2 separate regions of the Homo sapiens genome follow, and region 2 is linked to region 1. Evidence: promoter capture Hi-C in human tissues and cell types (Jung and others, 2019). All regions are on one chromosome and are shown on one strand. The core of a region is centred on a gene start or on the middle of the fragment in contact, and the rest is flanking DNA. Distances in the headings are between cores, read along the strand shown. Region 1 holds the start of ADRA1A (adrenoceptor alpha 1A). Region 2 overlaps LOC105379340 (a long non-coding RNA gene).

Evidence for each region. The method cuts DNA at HindIII sites, captures the fragments that hold promoters and counts their contacts. A contact is called where the count stands out against the background at its distance.
Region 2: a contact is called between a fragment that was not itself captured here and the fragment with the promoter of ADRA1A in region 1, in 1 of the 25 tissues and cell types used here (small bowel).

What each region holds. Positions count from the first base shown.
Region 1 is chr8:26,865,635-26,872,505 of GRCh38, forward strand. It overlaps ADRA1A (adrenoceptor alpha 1A), which reads right to left and starts at 1,644. Exons shown (of 3, transcript NM_000680.4): 1 at 1,302-1,644; 2 at 1-21. RefSeq lists an enhancer at 1-865. The HindIII fragment of the contact is 8,811 bases long and covers 1-5,802 here.
Region 2 is chr8:27,208,842-27,215,389 of GRCh38, forward strand. It overlaps LOC105379340 (a long non-coding RNA gene), which reads left to right. Exons shown (of 5, transcript XR_949607.3): 5 at 1,201-1,942. Among named protein-coding and RNA genes, the nearest start is that of STMN4, 46 kb to the right of the region's middle. The HindIII fragment of the contact is 6,971 bases long and covers 235-6,548 here.

The DNA of each region.
Region 1 (6,871 bases), core at 394-2,893:
GCATCGTTTGACCGCGTCCACCTGAAAGAGCGCAAAGAGAAAGGCGGCTTTGAGCTAGGCGCCCCAGGGAAAGAGGCTGTGCTGAGCTTGACGGGTTGGGGGACACCAGTTGGGAGCCGGGTTGGTTCTGCGGTCCAGAAGCTGCTTCGCCCGGCAGCGGTGGAGGCGACTTCGGAGCTCATCTCGCGCCCCCACCACTGGGAACCTGCCTAGCGCACTCTACTGAGTCACCTCTGCCCGAGTTCAGGATCCGAAGCGAAAAACAAACAAAAAAACAAATCCCCAAAACCCCAGGCTCCAGCGCTCGAAGTCTGGATTTCGAGCGCAGGTACCACGAAATTAAAATCCTCGAAGCCCCGGAGGGGCGACTGCGGCTGGCGAGTGTGTCGCACGGATCCTAGCCGGGGAATTCTGGAGGATGTACTCGGTTTCCGTTAGAACAGGTTGCCTCGCAGTCACCTGGAGGGGGCGGCCTGGGAGAGGGAACAGCTGCGACCCAGGGACCTCAGGGCCAGGACCACGAGCACGCTCACTCTCACGCCGGTGGAATTCGCACTCGGGTGTGCAGAGCGCACCGGTCTGTCCACCAGCCAAGCTGGCTTGAGAGCCAGGTCCCGAGCGAAGCCGGGAGGGACCCGAAGACAGAAAGCGACCCAGGTCTGTCCACGACGCCTTTCCAAGCCTCACTGTTGGCCACCCGAGGGGCTCCAGCTGCCAGCCGTAGCGGGACTGGCGGGGGACGGGGTGGGGAGGACGTCCCTCTGCAGAGGGAGCTTTGCAAGTGACAGTCACTGCGGATTTTGCAGGCGTAAACATTAAGCCGGCATGCCAGCGGGCAGGGGCCGCCTTCGATTTTCTGGGCTGGGGGCCACCATCTGCGTAAGAAACCTGGGTTTCCACAACTGCGAACCTACCGCAGGGACTCGGCAGGACAGCGCGGCGTGAGGAAGTGCCCACCTTGCCTTCTGGGGTTGGGCCCTGAGGTGGGACCTCGGGCAAAGACTCTTGTTAAAATCGCAAGTTGGAGACCTCACAGGTGGTATTAAAAACGTGCCACTGCAGAAACCCTTTTCCTCCTACCTCGAGGGTGATAAACACAGGGTTAAAAAGACACTTGTTCAGTAGAAGGCAACTTCGCAGAAGATGTAAGGGAATCGGGGGTGGGGTAGAGGGGCCGGTATAAAACCTGGTGGAAAAAGCGGGAGGCGCTGGGAAAAGTGGGGGTTCCGTCTCACCAGACGGCGGGGGAGGTCTGCCCTCACCCACTCGGCCCTGCGGGACGCCGGCCCCGGCGCACTCACCTGAAGCGCCGCTGCTGAGCCACCAGCTCGCGCGCGGGGGATGTGGACCCGGCTTCGGTCCCGGGAGCTGCCTGCCTGCTCTTCTCTGGAGGCGGAGAGGGGACCGTGTCTCCGAGGCACCAAATCCTTGTCCTTTTGCACCCGCTGACTCACCCCTCCACCACTGATGTCTTTAAGCTCCTGAACCGCTGTCACTTTACCTGCATTTTTTAAAAAGAGTCAAAATAAGAAAAGAAAAAAAAATGCAGATAACCGGTAACTCCACAATCACCCTTTTAATATTCAGCTCCCCGACACCAGAAAAGAATAGCAAGGAACTTTGCAGCTCTCGCTGACGTAACTCAGGCAGTAGCCCAGCTAGTACCGTAATCTCCTGCTGCTACCGTATTACTCTACGGCAACAGGCACAAGTGCGTATACAGCTGTAATGTTTTCCTCTGGCCTAGAGGGGGTTGGGTTCTAGCGTTTCTTTAAAAAGGTTTGTGTGTGTGTGTGTGTGTGTGTGCGCGCGCGCGCGCGCGTGTGTGTGTGTAGAGTCATTTGTAGTAAATAACTTCTTTAAATGAGCTTTTAAAAATAACGAAAAATTGACACCCTTGCTAGATATTGCTGTGTGTATGGTGTGTTCATAGGAATGTGCTATAAAGTAACTTTGAACAGCTTGATTTGATTAACATTTGGCCTAGGTTTTGTTAAGATCAAGAAGTATATTAAGAATATTGTAATTCTAAATATGCAAGTAAATTATAAGGTGTTTTAAATAGCAAGTAAAATCAGATAAAATATGACAAATCTGATTGTAATGAAATTATATTTTCAGGAAGATAAAGTGGACATATCTAAACCTTATTTAATATGATTCACTTCTAATTTCTTTAGACAGATGAATTTTAAGAGCATTATGGCCACAGAGTTTGGTATTTTTTAAATGCCACACAATCTTTTCCAGTTTTCTTGAGAAAATGGTATCCTTTCAGGAGTGTTACTCTCTTTAATTCATTAATAGCTGGAGTATGAAAACCTAGCACCACCAGTCTTATTACTTTTTTTCTGGTAAATTACATAATCTGTTTACCTTGTGATTGAATAAAGTCACATGTGTTTCAGAATATCGGGAACATAGAAAAATGTTTCCCACTCCAATTCCCACCTCCTAAGTCATCTTTCATCTTTATTGATGCAGACAAAGTGGAATGTTCTTATTTACTAGGTCTCCTTAAACCTAGGAACAAGGAGATAACTTTAAGCAGTGGCACTTAAATTCTCTCCTGTGAACAAAATCATATTAATATGATTACCTTTTCTAAGTGAGATAATGTTTGGGAGGCTCTTTTATAGCAATAAATCTCAAAATGCCTCAGAGGAATGCCCATGAGAGGGTCAGTAAATCCTATGTCATGGAAGACCTAATATATGTATTTATTTCTCTATTGTATACAAAGTCCTCCACCTCTGCCTCATACCTGTAGGGATAGAACTCACACCTAACACATTTGATTTGAATTTAATATATTTTTAAAACTGAATTTCGTGCCATAGGAGGAGCATCCTGGTTGAACAGACAGCTCCACTTCTCATTACTAAGTCACCTGCTCTCTCTGGGATTCAGTCCCCTTAGGAGGAAGCTTGACCTCAATTCCCTGCACTTCTAGTACTTTATCATCAAATATGTGTATAATGTCTGTGCTTCCGAAATCCCATCCATCAGAGGGATATACACTGTTTTGTTTTGTATTCATTAACCTGATGCTGTGAATGCAAATTCTTCATTAAGATGTGTTCCATGGTAGATAAGGGAAGCAGTGCTATCAGCAAGCAAAGCAACTGAAAATTGCTCAGCTCTGCAAGGTCGAAAATTGCAAAAGTCTTTGTAACTCCCAGTCCCCACTCTACAACAATTAAGAATACACATAATCCACCCCTGCACCCACCTCCAATAATTAACTAGTTAATACTAAGATAAGGAAGAGCAGCTCTTCATGCTGCTAGCAGGTAGGTCTTTCAAATCTGCTTCTCAGCCTGTGACCATCAATCCTTGCAAAACGACCTCTCAGAACCAATTTTTCAGTCACCTACCATTGATTCACAAACAGAAAACTATCCATCTGTTGGTTACTCTTTAAAGAATAGTTGACGTGGACATCCCAGAAAGTGTCTGAGTTGTACACATGGGTAGGTGGAGTGGAGAGGAGTATGCTCTGGGGTCATAAAGATGCTATTCTGACCCTCCTATGCGACCATGGCAAAGCCTTGGTTTCCTAATTTTTAAAGGGAGACAATGAACCCCCACAAGGTTGTTATTAGTGTTGAAAGAAATTACGTTTCTCAAAAACTCAGCTCATAATATTCACTAACTCTATTATTAATCTTATTAACTCCCTTTCTGCTCATTTTGTATGCTACTTTATAGTGAAATATATTTCTAACCCAGGTAGTCCATGAACACTGGTAAATTCAGCTGGAGAATGTGCTAAGTGTCTTGAGCACTACACTTGAGCTAAGTGGTTTAATCAGAATGACCCAACATGGTTAAGTTGCAAGAGCTGGCCCTGATCACTGGCTGCTTCTTTTCTTCTCACTTTCCCCCTTGTTCTTTGTCTTGAGGGGCCATGCAAATGTGTGTGAACACCTCAGCCCCTACAGCCAGAAAGCTGCCTTCTTGGCCTCAGGCCTTGGGGTACACACATTTGTGATGTTGTCTGCCCAGAGAGAATGGACCTGAAAGTGATTGTGTGGCCATCTGGGGCAAGGGATTCTGAGTCCCAGGGCATGGTCTAGAAAGGAGGGCACAGGCTCCAGGTGGGCATATCACATTAGTCCTATGGCCAAAAGGAGTCAGAGCTGGACTCTCTAAAGCCTGAAACCCTAGCCGGGGTCCCTCTTGCCTGGCTCTGAGGGTGATACTCTGAAGACTTCCGGTGTGACAGAAATTGAAGAATCCCCTGAAGGGGTGGTTGTGGAAAGACTCATAAAATGATATTGCTTGATGTAGGATTTGTGGAATCAGCAGGATTGAGATTTGTAGACAAAAGTGAGGAAGGTGAACCATCAGCAGCCGCATTTTAGAGTGGTGTGTCAGGGATGCTGGGGGAATGAGTCTGATTGGAGAAGAGCTGAGCAATGGACATAAACCCATGCATTGATTGGCAGGACTTTCTTAGTGACTAGTGAGGAACTCGGCAAGTGTGGTAGGCTTAGAGGTTTAAAAAAATAAAGAATCTGTCTATCATTCCCTTAGAAAACAATACACAATGGAATTAGGAGCTGTGTTCTGGAATTTATGATTGCAAATGACAGAGTAGAAGACTTAATGTTAGTATCTACCCCAAAGACTTGGCTTTTCAACTAATTCTCCTAAGGCTTAATAAGTTAAAGAGGCAAGAAAATGAAAAACAATTCTCAGAAAGGTATTGATGCAGTATCAAGTCACAGCTCTCCAAAGAAGCATTGTGTTCTAATCCTTTATCGAACTGAGAACACTGCACAGCCCACAGATACTGCTGAGGGATGTCTTTGATGAGATAGTAATTCTGTCTTTGCCATCATTTTTCCAAATCTTCATTGCCCTGAGAAAATAACATACTCCAAGTCTTGGGAGTCATACCACCCCATCCCTACACTGTGGGACTATCATGGTAGGAATATGAGGTCAAGTCAGCCTATAGCTGATCAGCAAATAATTCCTTTAAAACAATAAGACTTTGCTCTCGCATAGCAAATCTAAGCTGAGGCATATTAATCAAATTTTTTCAATATCTTTGTCAATATCATCTGGAAATGGAAGTAAAAGAAAGTCAATATGTGTACCAAGTGCAGACACATTTTTATCTCATCTCTTCACTTGCTGATGGGCTGTTATAGGCACTTTAAAATGCTTATTGACTTGTATTTAATTATAAAATTTATGCTCATAATAGCACATTTGGAAAAGTCAGACAGAAATGTATGAAAATAAAAATTATCTGTAATCCTGCCACTGGAGAAATAGCTATTGTTAAATATTTGTCATATTTTCTCATTTTTTGTTAATGTGTATAAATTATATACATGGAAAAATATATATACACATGTACATACCAGGAAATATTTTATGTACATGTATTTATTATGCATACATATATATTTCACATATTATACATTGTATACATTATATAAAAGAGTGTAATCATACTGTACCTATAATTATATATCTTACTTTTTCACTTATATTATATCATGAACTCATTCTATTATTACATTTATACCAAAACATGGTTTATAAGAGCTCCACAGTGATTCTATTATATGTATATGCTATTGTCTGAATGTTTGTGTTCTCCCCAAAATTCATATGTTGTAGCCTAAATTCCGAGGTGATGGTATTAAGAGGTGGGGTCTTTGTAAGATGATTAGGTCACGAGGGTTCCATCCTCAGGAATGGACTTAGTGCTGTTATAATAGAGGGAGCCTCTTTGCCCTTCTGCCATGTGAGAACACACAGAAGGCGACATCTATGAAGAATGGGCGCTTGCCTAGCATCAAATCTTCTGGCACCTTGATCTTGGACTTTGCAACTTCCCGAGCAATATATTTCTTTTGTTTATAAATTATCTAGTCTAAGGTATTTTGTTATAGCAGCCTGAACAGACTAAGACACTGTATGTCATGACAAATTAAATATTTAAATATTCAGGCTTTAAAAAAAATTCTGATCTATAACTTGAACTGTGGTAAATCCTCTTATTTATTTATTATTTTACTTTAAGTTCTGGGATACATGTGCAGAATGTGCAGGTTTGTTGCATAGGTGTACATGTGCCGTGGTGGTTTGCTGCACATATCAACCCCATCATCTAGGTTTTAAGCCCCACATGCATTAGGTATTTGTCCTAATGCTTTCCCTCCCCTTGCCCCCCATCCCCTGACAGGCCCCAGTGTGTGTTGTTCCCCTCCCTGTGTCCATGTATTCTCATTGTTCAACTCCCACTTATGAGTGAGAACATGCGGTGTTTGATTTTCTGTTCCTATGTTAGTTTGCTGAGCATGATGGCTTCCAGCTTCATCCACGTCCCTGCAAAGGACATGAATTCAATTCTTTTTTATGTCTGCATCGTATTCCACGGTGTATATGTGCCACATTGATAAATACTCTTACATATAATATTGTACTCCAAATTTTCCTTAAGATTAATTTCTGTAACTAAAATTAGAATAACAAAGGTTATGAACATTTAAGAGGTTATAACAGATATTGACCTCTAGAAAGGTTTTACAAATGTAGATGTAAAATATAAACTCCCAATAGGAGTGCATAACAGAACCTGTTTTTTGTTTTTTTACTTATTTATTGTTTGTCTCTTGCCAACTTTGACTGTTTATAATAAACTAGACAAGTACATAATATATGTAAATAAAATAAACCGTAGGCAATTTTATAAGTAAAAAATAATATCTCATTTTTTAAAATTTGTATTCTTTAGTTATGATTTTATTTCTTTACATTTATTTGGCATTTCTATGTTTTCGTTTGTGATTTGCTTGTCCGTATTTCTGCTAGCCAGGTGATATGGTTTGGCTCTGTGTCCCCACAC
Region 2 (6,548 bases), core at 2,470-4,969, 350 kb after region 1:
GCACCAATTATGGGAGGGGGAACAGTGGAAGAACAAGTTGCAGAGGCTGCACCTGAGTGGCTCTGTTGAAGAGAGGAGGATGTCAGAGCCTACAGTTACCAGACACCGTGCTCCTTCAATCCTGTTGATTTACCATCTCTAATGTATTTCTTCATGGTTTAAGTTGCCTGCTTTGCTGTTTGAAGATGCAGCCTGGGCAATCTGAAATAACTTTTGAATTAAGAGATTTGAACTGAAATGTTGCCCTTACCACTGTGTGATCTGTATGATCTTGGAAGAGTCATGTTCTCTCTCTAAGCATGAATTTCCTCGTCTGGCAAATGAAGGATATGGACTAATGGTCTCTAAGGGATTGTCCAGCCCAAAAGTCTATGATTAAATGAAGGAAACATTAAGTCAATAGATTTGTCAAGAACATGTCAGGATATTATGCCACTATAGTTTTTTTGTTTGTTTGTTTGTGATGGAGTCTCACTCTGTCACCCAGGCTGGAGTGCAGTGGCACGATCTTGGCTAACTGCAACCTCCACCTCCCGGGTTCGAGCAATACTCCTGCCTCAGCCTCTGGAGTAGCTGGGACTACAGGCATGCACCACCATGCCCAACTAATTTTTGTATTTTAGTAAAGATGGGGTTGGCCAGGCTGGTCTCGAACTCCTGACCTCAGGTGATACACCCGCCTCAGATGGATCTCAAAGTCCTGGGATTACAGGCATGAGCCACCATGCCTGGCCTACTATAGTTTTGACTGGAGAATGATGAACATTCTGGGCTCCCCATTTAATCAGCAATATCTGGAATAATAACTGCTTCAGAATTGCCAATTAGCAGGGATAGGTTCAGTCACAGTCTAGTCCTGAATATGAAACCTGGAAGCTTTCTTGTGGGGGAGGCATTATATTGGCTTCCTACCCAATAGCTGTTCCATGCATCTTCGTTACTGACAGCCTGACCTCCTACTTTATTCTCAACATAGAGACTAGAAGTGTCAATGTTCTCTCTACCAGGAGAATTCTTCCCAAAACAGGGTCCCAGAGCCTACAGATAGCTCCAGAGATTGAAGTTGGCATAAGAAATGAAAATATTTTGCCATCTCCAGCCTAACCCATGTCAGATAAAAATCCACCACCTATTTTTCTCAACCCATCTCCTCCTTCTTTTCCCCAATCCGCTAAACACCTCTTTGGTCTTCTCTTTTAGCCACCTACTCAAACCTTTGATCTGGAATGCCACAAATCTAAGAGATCTTCTATCCGGTGACAACAGCTCTTTGCAGACATTGCAAAGTCCTTTTCTGGTTTAAGCTCTGCCTCTGCCATGTGTTGTAATCAGCACAGAATGACAAGGGGTGAGCAGCAGTGTTAGAACAGATGTGACACACCTGCAGCCTACCACTGCAGCCTGGCCTTTTTGGAGGAAGTCTTCCCTACTTTCTACCAGCCTGGCAACCTGAACATAGAACATGACCACATGAGTCCAGAAGACCTGAAGAGAAGTGTACAGATTTGGGTTTTCTTCCCAAAGAAGAAGAGGTGGGCAGGAGAAACTTCTTCCTGCTTGTGGATGCAGTTGTGCGAGAATATAATTCCCAAAGCAACAACAGCAGCCACTTTGTGACCACGAGGTAACCAACCCAAATGGAAGCCAATGTGGTAAGGAAGGCAGAACAAAATTTGTTTAATACAGATTTTTAATGATCTTATTAAGCTCTTCGAACCAAGTTTGGAACTACCTTCCTCAGAATGAAAAAAACAAAAACAACTGGGAATTCTGTATCCGAGATGCTTGTAGCCCGCCTTTCTAGCATAGGGTACATTCACTCCAGCTGGTTTACCTCTTGCTATCAAAATACATAGGGCCTTTGTTGGTTGTTTGGATTTCCTCTCAGTGTTGTGCAGACCAACAAAATTTGGGGGTATATTAAAGTAAATATGCTTTAAAATTAGTGGTTGCACTGTGTTCTTATTTAACACATCCATTCAGGAAGGAATATGATTATGAGCATGGATTTTGATCAGATCGCCTAAATTTAAAACTCACATCCACCTCTTACTAATTTTGGGATCTAAGGAAAGTTACTAAACACTCTACCTCGGTTCCCTTATGTGTAAAGTGAGGCTATTACTGGTATTTACCAGAAGAGCTGTTATGAGGCTTTCGTGAGTTAACACATAATGTGCTTAGGACAATGCCTAGGTTAGAGTAGCTGCTCCTTAAAGCTAGCAATTACAGCCACCCCTCTGCATCCACAGATTCTGTATCCGTAAATTCAACTGTAGATCAAATATATATTTTAAAAAAAGGATGGTTGCATCTATACCGAACATGTGCAGATTTTTCTCTTGTCATTATTCCCTAAACAATACAGTCTAACAACTACTTACGTAGCATTTACGTGGTATTAGGTATCATAAGTAATCTAGAAACGATGTAAAATATATTGGAGACTGTGCAGTTTTTTGTTTGGGGGGTTTTTGGGGTTTTTGTATGTTTCTTTTTTTTTTTTGAGACAGAGCCTCTGTCACCTAGGCTGGAGTGCAGCGGCAAGATCTCGGCTCACTGCAACCTTCGCCTCCCGAGTTCAAGTGATTCTCCTGCCTCAGCCTCCGAAGTAGCTGAGATTACAGGTGTGTGCCACCGGGCCTGGCTCATTTTTGTATTTTTAATAGAGATGGAGTTTTGCCATGTTGGCCAGGCTGGTCTTGAACTCCTGACCTCAGATGATCCGCTCGCCTCAACCTCCCAAAGTGCTGGGATTACAAGCGTGGGCCACCGGGACTGGTCTTGCACAGTTTACATGCAAATACTACAGCATTTTCTACCAGGGACTTGAGCATCCTTGGGTTTTGATATCTTCAGGGATCCTGGAGCCAATCCCCCATGGATACCACCGAGGGATGCCTGTTCTTCATACCCTTGACTGTATAATTTTGGGTGAATTACTTAAAATTCCCTGAGTCCTGGTTTGCTCATCTATAAAATGAGAACTATCATACTGCAACTGCACTCATATTTCTTGTGAGAGTTCATGCTGATACCCAGTACCGTGCCTTAATACGGAAACTCAGTGTAAAAATGCTACTTCATCCTCACTGAAGTCAGAATGTTTTTGTTGGCATATCAACAGAGCGTAAAATATTTTGGAGAATTGCTGTAAGCAAGAGTCCTGGTGCTGCTAAATGAATTATGGAATGATTTGTTTCCATTGTGTTACATTTTAAGGCAACGGGATCTGTGATTCAAAGAAATTCTTGGGCAAAGCAAATATCCTCTAATTTATCTTTTCTGCAAACGGGGATTTTCATATATCAGATTTGCCTGAAGAAAAAATTGCTTATACTGGATACGTGCTTGTAACCAGAGAACATTGAGAAACATTTCTCTCAAACATCCAGTTGCAGCATTCATAGAATTCAGGGTTTGGGGCTCCCTCCCAAGTACACTGCATGTATGCTTCTTGTTTCTACATGGGAATCTGAGTTTTAATTTTGTATTTTCCCCTCAGTGAGCAGGTAAATAAGTATGGCAGTGACCCCAGAGCTTGGCAGTTTTGTACAGCTAAAAGAAGAACAACGTTAGAATCTGATGAGCACTTAATGAATGGCCATCCTGTATACTTCCGCACACCCCTGAGCAAGTTACCTCTAGTTTTCTCACTAGTAATAAAGTGGAAATATGTCTACCTCCTTTTATTTTTAGGAGGATCAATACAAATTGTATATTTGAAATACCCGTTCTGCACATGGACACAGGGAGGGGAACATCACACACTGGGACCTGTCGGGGTTGGGAAGCAAGGGGAGGGAGCGCATTAGGACAAATAGCTAATGTATGCGGGGCTTAAAACCTAGATGATGGGTTGATGAGTGCAGCAAACCACCATGGCACATATATACCTATGTAACAAACCTGCACATTCTGCACATGTATCCCAGAACTGAAAGTAAAATAAAATAAATAAATAAATAAATAAATAAAATACAAACATTATATATGTGTTTTACATTATGTATTATATAAAATTAGTAGACAAAATTAACTCTTTTCTTTGCTATTATGTTTAAACTGGGGAAAATGACATTTTGAATTGTGTTCTATGCAATTTTTAAATTTGAAAAATCATTGTTTTAGGTAAAAAGATTGACATTAATTTAAAATCCTAGTTCAGTATCTATTTTGTATTTCATAAGGTTAACTTTTGAAAATATTTACTTTTCACACCAAGAATTCTGGACCATCTTCTTGTTTTATTTGGTATTTGGTATTAAATAAGGCATTATCTTTAAATAACCAATCATCTGAAAGTATTTAGTTTTGAAAAATAAAAATATCTTAAAACCGATAGTTTATTGATTATTAGCCTTGTGATGATTATATGGATATTTAAAGTTAATTGAATGTGTATTTTGAACCCAACATTCCTAGAATGGGGGGAATAAAAATAATTTATATAAAGCAAAAAATAAAGTAATACCTGTTCTGTTATAAATCATAGCTATTATTACTTACAATATTATATTTAGCACCTACTTTGGAGACATGGTGAGGGCATGGGATAAAAATATGAAAGAGTGATGTGTCCTTTAAAATATCTCTTAGCTCTTTCTCCCCACAATAGGTTCTGTGTTCATCCTGAAAAAAGCTTAAAGACAGCTGAAGAAGGAAGTTAACTTTTCCACTCTTCTCTCAGCCAGGGACCAGTGAGATGGCCTGAGGCAAGTCATTTGAAATCTAGATTCACATATTCATAAAATTTTGGCAATAACATCCATTATTCTTATCACAAAGAAGTAACTTTAGTGTCAGATTGATGCAGTGAGGAAAACAGGAAGGAAGGAAGGAAGGAAGGAAGGAAGGAAGGAAGGAAGGAAGGGAGGGAGGCAGGGAGAGAGGGAAAGGAAGGAAAAAGGAAAAAAGTAATTCTAGAAAATACTTTTAAACAAAAATATTAGAAAATACTTAGAAAATATCTTAGAAAAATAGTTAGAAAATACTTAGAAAAAATCTTAGAAAATACTTTTAAACAAATTATTTATCTGATGCCCACATACAATTCCATAAAGTATGGAAATTAAAATAGCCTGGCTCTCTTTGTTATGAAACCCAAGCAGGATATTTTTATAGCCAAAGCCTATTGAACTCAAACAAACTGAAATGTTGATTATATTAAGCCACAATGCAACTGCCAAATAGCTAGTCAGGACAGACTCCCAGTTTCTGGTTCAGCATATAAAGAATTGAAAGTTGTTGGCTATGCTCATAACAAAAAAAAACACTGAACAAACTGAAAATCAGCAACTCTTCATAGATCCATCAGAGAATTGAGGTCATGGGGCAAATCACTGTCCCCAAAATTAAAGAAACAGACTGATACAGAGAATCACAACTTACCAGAGCAGAAACCTCTGTAGGAACCAGTATTGGAGCAGTAAAATCTAAACTGTAGCTGAAAGATTGCTGGGGGCTCAGCAAGAACAAGTCTTAGGGTTTAAAACTCCAGGAGAGGCCAGTCTTAGTGGAGCCCCCATGTTTTGTGAATTTTTCCTCCAGGATCTCTACCAGCTTCTCATAGTGAAGGTCAGAGAAAAATCCCCTCTTGCTTCCAGCAGGGAAAGGTAAAATAGCAATTTTGAAGTATGCCCAGAGAATTCTGTTCTTCATAACAAGTCCTACTCTCAAAATAAACTATTTTACCAGATCCTAACTGACTGGGGTTTTACTAAGGCCTAACCAATCTGGGGAAAGTGAAATACCAAAGTTCAGACATCTCTATCCTTCCTATCTCACCTAAGGAGGAGAGGACTGAGAAGCACTTGTATAGGTCACAGCCCAGGGTACAGGCTCACTAAATGACTGAATTATAATAATAAGACTTCAAGCACTCCCCTTTCCTCCACACCTCACTAATATATCAATAGAGCTCCTGTTTAATAACAGGGGGATACAACTGGAAGAAATGCATATCTCAGACCTTATTTAAGAAGAAGACTCTAGGGAAACCTAAAGACAGCAGGGGAGAGAAAACAAGGATGCCAGAAGAAATTTAGCCTCTGAGACCTACAACTATAGCAAACAGTAAACACAGTGTAACTCCTAGACAGATGAAGTCTCACATTAAAAGCCTGTTTACCACAGTTTCTTTTACCCAATAAATCATATCGAGCAAAGTATACTACAATCATGACAAAGTATGCTACAATACCAAAAACACATTCTGAAGACAGAGCAATCATCATAACCAGATTCAAATGTGGCAAATATATTGGAATTGTTAGACCAAGAATTTAAAACAACTATGGCTAATATACTAAGTGTTCTAATGGAGAAATTGGGAAAGATAAAAGAAAAGGTGGGCAATGTAATCAGAGAAATGGAAAAATCTAACAAATAATCACAAGGAAATGCTAGAGATAAAAAAACACTGTAACATAAATTAATAATTCCTTTGATGGGCTCATAAATTGACTGAACACTGCAAAGGGAAAACATCAGTGAGTTTGAAGAAAGTTCAATAGAAACTTCTAAAACTGAATGCAAAGATTAAAAAA